2 separate regions of the Homo sapiens genome follow, and region 1 is linked to region 2. Evidence: promoter capture Hi-C in 16 types of primary human blood cells and fetal thymus (Javierre and others, 2016). All regions are on one chromosome and are shown on one strand. Each heading gives the region's core, a stretch centred on a gene start or on the middle of the fragment in contact. The rest is flanking DNA. Distances are from core to core; before and after follow the strand shown. Region 1 holds the start of LINC01424 (long intergenic non-protein coding RNA 1424). Region 2 holds the start of GATD3 (glutamine amidotransferase class 1 domain containing 3).

What was found. Contacts are between HindIII fragments. The CHiCAGO score rates a contact against its expected background, and 5 or more counts as called.
Region 1: a contact is called between a fragment that was not itself captured here and the fragment with the promoter of GATD3 in region 2, in 1 of 17 cell types (naive B cells). The highest score is 6.2, in naive B cells.

Annotation. Positions count from the first base shown.
Region 1 is chr21:44,802,158-44,806,997 of GRCh38, forward strand. It overlaps SUMO3 (small ubiquitin like modifier 3), which reads right to left. Exons shown (of 4, transcript NM_006936.3): 4 at 3,460-4,840. The coding sequence ends at 4,794. It overlaps LINC01424 (long intergenic non-protein coding RNA 1424), which reads left to right and starts at 84. Exons shown (of 2, transcript NR_109928.1): 1 at 84-479; 2 at 1,590-2,560. RefSeq lists a silencer at 232-281. The HindIII fragment of the contact is 2,494 bases long and covers 1,778-4,271 here.
Region 2 is chr21:44,131,688-44,136,379 of GRCh38, forward strand. GATD3 (glutamine amidotransferase class 1 domain containing 3) reads left to right here and starts at 1,996. Exons shown (of 7, transcript NM_004649.8): 1 at 1,996-2,151; 2 at 2,415-2,467; 3 at 4,373-4,486. The coding sequence starts at 2,011. RefSeq lists enhancers at 1,496-2,023, 2,024-2,551, 2,552-3,079. The HindIII fragment of the contact is 13,325 bases long and covers 654-4,692 here.

The DNA.
Region 1 (4,840 bases), core at 1,775-4,274, 670 kb after region 2:
GAGATAAGAGGTCGGGGGGTGGGGAGGATGGTCGCGGGGCGGTCTGGGGCTGGAGACAAGGGGCCTGAGGTGCGGGTACGCACTGAACATTCCAACCGTCCCCAGCCGGCCGGGTTTCAGGTTTGAAAAGGTGGGAAGGTTAGCTGTCCTGGCGCTTTTCCTCCACGTGTTGTGCGGCTCCGCTGGAGTTCGGGTCCAGCACCTTCTACTCCGAGGGAGAGAGCCGCGGGGAGAGCCCTGTTCGGGCCCGCGGCTCGAACTGACCGCCGGCTCTGCCGAGCAGCCTCGACCCCAGGGCACCCCCGGGAGAGAGGGCGCGGCTCAGGTCCCTGCCCGAACCCCTGGGGTGCTGAGAGACTCCCCAGCGCCCCGCGTGGGCTCCCGGCCTCTCCACAGTTGAGGATCCTGTAAGGGGCGAGCCCTTTTTCCCATAATGGCTGTAGTGAGTGGGTGTGCTTTCCCGATTGACCCGCTGTGAGGTGAGCGATTTTAACCCACATCCTTACTGACTTCACAGCACAGTAGGTGCTTCGTGGCTGTCCGGTGCAAGGATGTATATACACACACACCTTTGCAAAAAAAGTTTGCATCTCTTGCCTGGCTGTTTGTTGCAATAATCTATCATTTGTCTTTTCCTTTCCAGCATTGCAGATGATCCCTTGAAAAGAAGTCTGATCACATTCACACTCTGCTCCGCCCATTTCACTCAGTAAAGCTGAAGTCCTGCAGTGCTTTGCTCTGCCTCCGGTCACCCCGCCATACTCCCAGACCCTCCCTCCCTCTCACTCCACTCCAGCTGCCCTGGCCTGGTTCAGAGTCCCTGACTCTTCCCTCCCCGGAAACACTTTCTGGCGGCTCTTGTCCCCGACTCTTCCCACCTGCTCTTTCAGTCTTTGCTCAAATGTTGCCTCTTCAGTGTGGCCTAGGCCGTCACCACCCGGCCTTCACCGCATACCTTTTTCTCTGCAACACCTACTCAACACACCGTACTATAGAACTTACTGGCATGCTATAAATGTATTACCCTTATCTGTTGCCTCTAACCAAAAGCGTGTTCCATGAGAGCCATGGGTCCCTGCCTACTTCTGTCTTGTTTCTGGGGCAGCCTCTGTACCTGGACATCGTATACTCTTAACACGGATTTGTCAAATCAAATGAAATTTAACAATACAAACTTCACAAGTATGCATAGTGTAGGAAAATTCCCCAAAATTCAAAATTTCAGTCTACCTCCATCTTTTCAAATGACCACAGTGCTTTATAAAATGACATGGTCCTTTGAGACTGTTTCAGAGAGTAATTTGTGCAAATGCAATGTGCAAAAAGTCACAGTGGAGGTGTTTCCTCCCCCATTCAAGAGCTGCTCTCTCTCTAATCAGACAGCACCCCACACCCCAAGGCAGTCTGTCCAGTGCTCCTAAAGGAGAGCAGCTCCCCTTTTCCAGTTATGGGAGATGTGGGCAATAAAGCATTACTGTCAATGCCGTGATGTTCACTGCAACATATGCTTGATGTTTTCATAATTTTATCCATCTTTTTCAGACATCTTACTGCAGAACACTGTATGTTTTCCAATTATTATTTTTCAGAAATGTGGTTTACAGCTTCTATCAGGATTAGCTTCAGCTTCAAGTGACAAAAGTCACTTGAAATATGAGTTGCTGAAACAAGATGGCAGTCTCTCCCCTCAACAGGACTGTTACAACACCTTATCTTCAGAGAACCAGGCTCTCTGCAACATTTCAGGGACGTCGTTCAGTACCTTATGTGGAATTCAAGCTTAGCTGGGCATCCTATGTTTTAACTGGCTAACTCGTGGAACTCTCAACTTGGATCAAGTGGTAGTGGAGTCCCAGGGACTCTGAGCAGCCAGTGTGTGATACTGCAGGGCAGCACACCCTGGGGAGGCCAACTGTACAGAATAAAATTAATGCTTTCTATCTTTAGCAACTAAAGTTCTGAAATATAAAAAGGACCTCACAGCTTAACCCATGTTATACGGTGGGGTTTTCCCATGAACATCACGCGTTTCCAGCTGGGCACTCCTGCAGCATGGCTAAGATGACAACTCAAGTTCCCTGGGAGTGGGGGTTCCTGGGATGTGAACCTTTCGGTGCAAAAACTGGAGAAGTTCCAGTTGGGACCCCAGGCATAGATACTAGGATAAATAGGGCCTCTCTCCTCCAGGAGCATCAATTTAACCCAAAGATTCTTGGAGTCAGTTTCACATAAGTAATCTTGTTGAAAATAGTAATCCCAACAGATCTATTTTTCCAAATGCACCATTTGCATAAATCTCAGAAAAAAGACAACTTCAAGAACATACCTTTGCTGGGCACCATGGCTCATGCCTGTAATCCCAACTACTTGGCAGGCTGAGGCACGAGGATCACTTGAGGCCAGGAGTCTGAGATCAGCTTGGGCAACTGATTTATGGTTTGGATTTGTGTCCATGCCCTTCCTCTTCTGCCATGATTATAAGTTTCCTGAGGCCTCCCTAGCCATGCTTCCTGTACAGCCTACAGAACTATGAGTCAATTAAACCTCTTTTCTTTATAAATTACCCAGTCTCAGGTAGTTCTTTATAGTAATGTGAGGATGCACTAATACAGCAATATAGTGAGAGCTCCATCTCTACAAATCTTTTTTAGAAAGACAGGACATCCTGCTGGTTCTGCTGTGAGGTGTTGTGGGTGGAAGTTCAAGCAGCGCTGCCCTAATACATCCACATATGCTCCTGGCCATTATTCTTATCTAACCTACGGTGCCTGGGACACATCCCTTTCCTCATTGATTTTGGCAGCCGCTTCGCCCCAGGCTGCCTAGGGAATCTGGCAGATGTCCCCATCCTGTATTGTGCCTTAATCCGTGCACTCTTCCTGGTGCAAGTGAATCACGTGTTCCATCTCCACAGCTGCCCATCTTTCTTCACCTTGGGTTCATTCAACTGATGGGCTAAAACAGCTCATTTTCAACCTGGGTTTTGTTACACCACTGCACACTGGGAAATTCTTAAAGCCAAATCAATGTCAGTTCAGTTTCAAAGCAGATAGGTAAGTTGTCCATGGCAGAAGGAAAGCTGACTTACATTCAAACACCAGAAAACGAGAGATGTCCTAGACTAACACCCAAGCTCACCTGCCTCTAAAATCCACCCTTTCTTTACATACGAAACCCAGGAGAGGGAGGGTAACATGTCACAGTGATGCCAGCTCAGACAGCTGTCAGCCAGGAGGTCTCTGAGGAGAGGATGCATCCCTCAGCAGGAAGAAGGCTGGACTAGCATTGGTGATGTGCCAGGGGAGGGGAAATGAGCTGCCAGGCGAATACTAACCTTCCAGCGGCTAGCTTTTCAATCAAAGTTTCTCAGTGCAGTGGCTGCCTGGAATGGTCAATTCAAACACTGAATTGTACCAGTATGCCCCAACCTTCAAATGCAGTGTTTAGTAGAAGCCAAGAGACAGAATACCAAACTATATTTACTGTTTACAGTAGTAAAGGACAACAAATAATGTACAAATTGGTGAATAAACACAACAGAGCCAACAAACATCCCACCCGAGCCCATACAGCAAACAGGAAATGAGAACATTTCAGCAAGATTTCAAGCAAGCAAGAGATGATGGGTCATTGTTCAGGTGACTGTAAAAAGGCAGAGAATGGCCACCAAGCAGCAATGGAGCCTCAGGGAAGGACAATAGGCAGAACTATGAAAATGTTTAATTGGTATAGATCCCAAAATATTTCACAGAACTGAAATCACCAGACTAATGCATAAATTCAATACCTATTTGGAAAGCAGCACGGCACAAACCCACGAGAAGAACATGAAGTCATCATTCCATGGGTTCATTTGTAACCACACTTGGAAGTAGCTCTTATACACGACAACATAACTGCAAATTCAGCAATACTTAGTCTTACTTTTTTATGTATAGACCATAATCATTCATCAGAAGCAAATACTAGAAGAAATCTGAGGCCACAACACCATTACCAAATGAGAAATGTGGGAATTTCTTCAATATTAAGAGGGAGAAAAAGGCCAATTTTGGTTGTGCCAATCCTTGCCTGTGTACCAACGCCAGGTACTGAGCAGGGAGTGGGGTGGGAGGGGTGGCAGGGGGGTGGGTCCTGGGCCTCAGACCCCGAGGTTACATGCTTGAGGGCCAGAGAGCACGTGGGGTCAAATTACCAAAAGACTCGGTTATTTTTTAACCTTTGAAGAAGCATTCCAGTATTTTCCCTTCAACTTTTCCATATACTGACAAAGCTTAAATTTGCAATATTTAGCATTTTAATCACCTGTGCCTGTAACAGCAAGTGACAGTCTGTCCTCCCTACCAACCTTGCCCCCAATACCTGTCCAACAGCTGCATCCCCACTGCGGGAAACACCAATTCTCTATGTGACTGGAGTGAGCAGGGGAGAGGCAACCAACTCAGGAGTCAGATCCCTGGCCAGACTAAAAGCGAACATTCAGGCTATAATTTTGGGGTTAAAAAAATGTTGTAGGAGGGGGGGAAAACACAAATGAGCACACAAAAGTACCCACAATATCTTGCAACTCATTTTACCTGAACAAAGATAACAATTCTGATTGGCCCAATTTAAGTTACAGATTCATCCCTGCAGATATAGTTTTGAGTTGCACTTGAAGTACATCAAAGAGAGGAAAATCATCGTGGTGAATGTCCTCGAGTTTCCGCAGACACCTTTGTGGTCGGCATGGTCACGTGCTCACCATTCAACAGCAATGCGAGGATGGACGGCCCGGGCTGGGGACGGGCCCTCTAGAAACTGTGCCCTGCCAGGCTGCTCTCCGGCACACCTCCCGTCT
Region 2 (4,692 bases), core at 746-3,245:
GAAGTGGAGCTGATATCTGCCTGCCGGCCTCCCGGGGGTGGCGTGAGGCCAGATGTGCTAGAGAGTGGAGATGAATACGACAGGCAGTGCCTTGTGGCCCACAGCACTGTACCTGCAGGCCTGCAGACCAGAGGTCTTTGTAGAAGGGAGGAGCTCAGGCCCTGATGACACCAGGTGTTCTGTGGCTGCACAATCTCCGTGACCCAGACGAGAGAGAATCCTTAGCTATCGCCTACCCAAAGCACAAGTTCCAGTGTTCCCCTCCCTTGCCTCGCCCTTTTCCGTGAAACAATTTCCAGCGTTCCCCCTCCTCGCCTCACCCTTTTCTGTGTCACATGTGCATGGCGATGGACACCTGAGTAGTCGCCCCTGGGACAACTGGAGCTGCGGCTCTGCAGTGGGGTCTGGGAGCTCCCGGCCAGGGGCAGCTCCCGCACACTTGGTAGAGACAGGGTCCTGGCCCCCACACCGACTGAGTGAGAGTCTGCATTCGGCATTTCCTTTCTGAGTGGCGCTTGGTGTTTTTTTGTGCCATCCCACAACCCCATCGCTCCCACCAGCTGATGCTCCCTGGCTGGCCGCTCCCCAGGAGCTGAGAAGCCTGAAGAGGGCCAGGCACGGAGGAGCAGGAACGAGGACAGTCAAATGTGCCAAGCTTGTCTTTGGTTGTAACTGGTAATGTCCCATGTCTGTTATTCTAGTTCCCCACTATCTTGCAAGGATTGGCAGTAAAGTCCTAGTGATGGACAACGCGGCAGTGGGGAAAGTGACAGCCGTGGCTAGATCATCAGATGTGTCTGTAGAATCCGGTGTGTCCCTGTGAACATCCGCCAGCAGTAACCATTCACATTATTTCAAAAACCTGCATTATTAGGTTGAAAATGGGTAAATCGGGGAAAAAGCCAGCACTTATCCAGCTATTCCTCTGTGAACTAACCCATGCATAACAAACAGATTTTTTTAATGGAAGAATTCCAGCTAGGACCCGAGCAGCTGGGATCTTCACACTGACCGTCCATGCTGTGAACGTAAAAAACAAAAACAAAAAAACAAACCCAAACAGCGCCCGGGAATGGTGGCTCACGCCTGTAATCCCAGCACTTTGGGAGTCCGAGGCGGGCAGATCACCTGAGCTCGGGAGTTCAAGACCAGCCAGACCAACATGGAGAAACCCCGTCTCTACTAAAAATACAAAATTAGCCTGGCGTGGTGGCGCATGCCTGTAGTCCCAGCTACTTGGGAGGCTGAGGCAGAAGAGTCGCTTGAACCTGGGAGGCGGAGGTTGCGTTGAGCCGACTTCGCGCCATTGCACTCCAGCCCGGGCAACAAGAGGGAAACTCCGTCTCAAAAAAAAAAAAAAAAAAACCCAAACAGAATCGGCGGCTCACTTGCCCCCAGACTAACCCAGATCAAGCCCCTGGGTGGAACTGCAGTTTCCAGGATACAACATCCCGGGGTCAGTAAAACCCGGAGGGGTCGCTCCGTGGGAGCCGGAGCCGCGAGGAGACAGTCATGGAAGCGGAGGGGTAGTCCTGACCCCGCGTGGGTCCTGACGCCGAGATTAAGACGAGTGGCCATTTAGGAGGATGTGGACCCTGGACGCTCGTGGTGAGTTAAGGATGAGACGGAGGTAAGGTAAGAAGCGCCGGACTGAGCCGCCCCGAGGCAGCCTTGCTCTGCGGATGGCGGAAAGGGTGCGCCGCCTGTGGAGGCGTCCGATGGGGGCGGGGCTGGGGACCCCGGGAGTCACCAGCATCCCTCAGCCTCGAGCACGAGCCCTCAGCCACCACCGGAAGGAAGACAGGGTTCCCGGAACTCTATTCGGAGGCTCTGCGCAGGCGCGGCCCCCGCCCACCGGCGAACTCACTGGATAGGGCTGAGACGGGGGCGGGTCTTGGCTCCGCCCAGAAGGCTGCGCAGGCGCAGTCCCGACGAGCAACGCGTTTGTAGAGGGGTGGGTGCGCACGCTCTGTCCCTGCGTGACCTTCCGACCCCGCTGTCCTCACCGCAATGGCGGCTGTGAGGGTCCTGGTGGCCTCGAGGCTCGCTGCGGCATCTGCATTCACGTCCCTGTCCCCCGGCGGTCGGACGCCTTCCCAGCGCGCAGCCCTTCACCTCTCCGTGCCGCGCCCCGCGGCCAGGGTCGCGCTGGTGAGTGGACGGAGGGGGTGAGGTCAGCTCCCGCCTCCAGAGATCAGCCTTCGCTGTTCTCTGCCCAAGGTCGGCCCCTCTTCCTAGGTCCGCTCCCGCCGCCCCACGTCGGCTCCTTCACCCCAAGTCAGCTCCTGCGGCCCAGGTCGGCCCCATTTTCCCGGGTCAGCGCCCGCGGCCCAGGTCGGCCCCTTTCCCCCCAGTCAACTCCCGCCGCCCAGGTCGGCCCCTTTCCCCCGGGTCAGCTCCCGCTCCTCTCGCAGGTGCTGTCTGGATGCGGAGTCTACGATGGGACCGAGATCCACGAGGCCTCGGCGTAAGTCCTCAGGGGCAGCTGGTCCTCCACCCCGGGGGCCTCGAGAAGGCCTCTCCACCAGTGAAGTTTACTCTTTTTTGAACAGCTTAGAGAAAGCATGTATTTTATTTTATTTTTACTTTTTGTCTTTTGAGACAGCGCCCAGTCTGGAGTGCAATGGCGCGATCTTGGCTCACTGCGGCCTCCGCCTCCTGGGTTCAAGCGATTCTCCTGCCTCAGCCTTCCGAGTAGCTGGGACTACAAGCATGCACCACCACACCCAACTAATTTGTGTATTTTTGGTAGATACGGAGTTTCACCATGTTGGCCAGGCTGGTCTCAAACTCCTGACCTCAAGTGATCCTCCCGCTTTGGCCTCCCAAAGTGCTGGGATTACAGGCATGAGCCACTGCACCCGGCCGAGAGAGCTTGTATTTTAAATACCCTATTCTTGGCTAAAAAAAAGCAAAAACGACTTGCAAAACCCAGGGAGACGCTAAGAAAGAACAGTTTTTAAGTGTCGCTTATGCTGTCACCTAGAGCCTAGAAATGACTTAGCATTTCACTTGAGTGTTTTTCAGGACACACACATTTTGAAAACACTGAGATCACACTCACCCGTGTTTTGCAAATGTTTCTGACGCATGGGAAGTAATTCCCATTCATTCAGTTCTCAACATCATTTTAACAGTTGCGTGGTATTTCTGGGTCCTAGACAGGTTACTGTTTACGTAACTGGTCAGCTGTTGCTGAGTGCTTGGTGGCCTGATTTCCTGTGCTACTGGAAATGACTGCAGGCCGAACCAGTAGGGCAGGAGGCCACCACGCGTGCCAGGTACCTGTAGTTCCCATGTGGTTCAGGGTGAACTGGAGAGGGGAGAGCTGGGTGGTGGCGAAAGGGGTGTCAGGCCATGGAGAGTGGCCTGAGGCTGGTGGCTTTGTGGGTGGCCCACCTTGGCTGGTTGGAGTTGGCACTAGGCAGAGTGAGCTGGGGGAAAGGGCCAGGATGTGTTTCATGATTTGGCCTTGGTGGGATAGAAAATAGCCCCAGAATAGCTTGAGCCCTCCCAGGCAGAACGGCAGGGTCTTGTGTCTGGGGTGTCTGGGTGGATTTCTTATGGGTAGCGGAACCCAAGTGCCAGGGCCAGGTGCTGACCTCTCCCTCTGGCAAGTCACTGCACTTCATGCCTCGGTTTCCTCCTCCACGTAAGGGGCAGTGAGGGCTTAGTGTGTGGGTGGGCTTAGCCACCTATCTCCTGTTGGCACTGGGAGTTGCGGATGCCAGCGTGAGCCCCCATAATGTCAGCTGTTGTCCCCAGGAGGAGCTTCTGTTGCCCTTGCCCTTGGGGAGATGGAGCTGCCTGGCCTGTGGTGTTGTCCTGGGGTCTCTTGTGTCTCTCCCACCATCTGTGATGGGAAAGTTGAGGGAGACTAGAAATTGAACTAAGTAGTGACCGAAAGCCCCGTCACACCGTCTGTGCACGTGGCACTCTGAGCACACTGCTGCTTCTCACTCTTGGTGCTTGCAGCAAGCAACTGGAGGAGGGCAGCCAGGCCCTGGGTGTAGGTAGAGCACTCAGCAGCCGGGGACCCGCACGCCTCCAGGCTGTGCCCTCAGTGGAGTCACCCGGCCCCCATACCCCAGTTTGCAAAGGGAGCTGTTGGGACCAGCTGATCTCCATAGCCCACTTCTGAGGGTTTGTCATAGTCGTAACCCACCAACCGACAGTGAATTGGAATGGGGGTGTGGGGGACGTTTGGCTTGGTATGGAACCAACTGTAACTTTTTGCAGAGCAAGTAAGATATTAATATACATTAGGAATTTGCTCCTGGTACTTAGCTAAAATCCTGTTTTTAAAAATGTGTTAACACAAATCTGAGTGGGGCACGTTTTGAAGAGTTGTCTCTGGTTTTCCCCCGTGCAGGATCCTGGTGCACCTGAGCCGTGGAGGGGCTGAAGTCCAGATCTTTGCTCCTGACGTCCCTCAGATGCACGTGATTGACCACACCAAGGGGCAGCCGTCCGAAGGCGAGAGCAGGTGTGGGGGTGGGATTGGAACTTGCTTCTTGTCTACCTCCCACGGTGCAGCCTTTTTTTGCTGGCTTAGCTTAAACCAAGTCTTGTGTGCAAATGAACGTCCTTCTGAGCAGCTGTGCTCGGGCTGTTCCAGAAGTAATGCTGCCAAGGCTCAGGAGTGCCTTCCTTCCAGTACTCACAGAAGGACTGAAAATGGCGACCGGATCG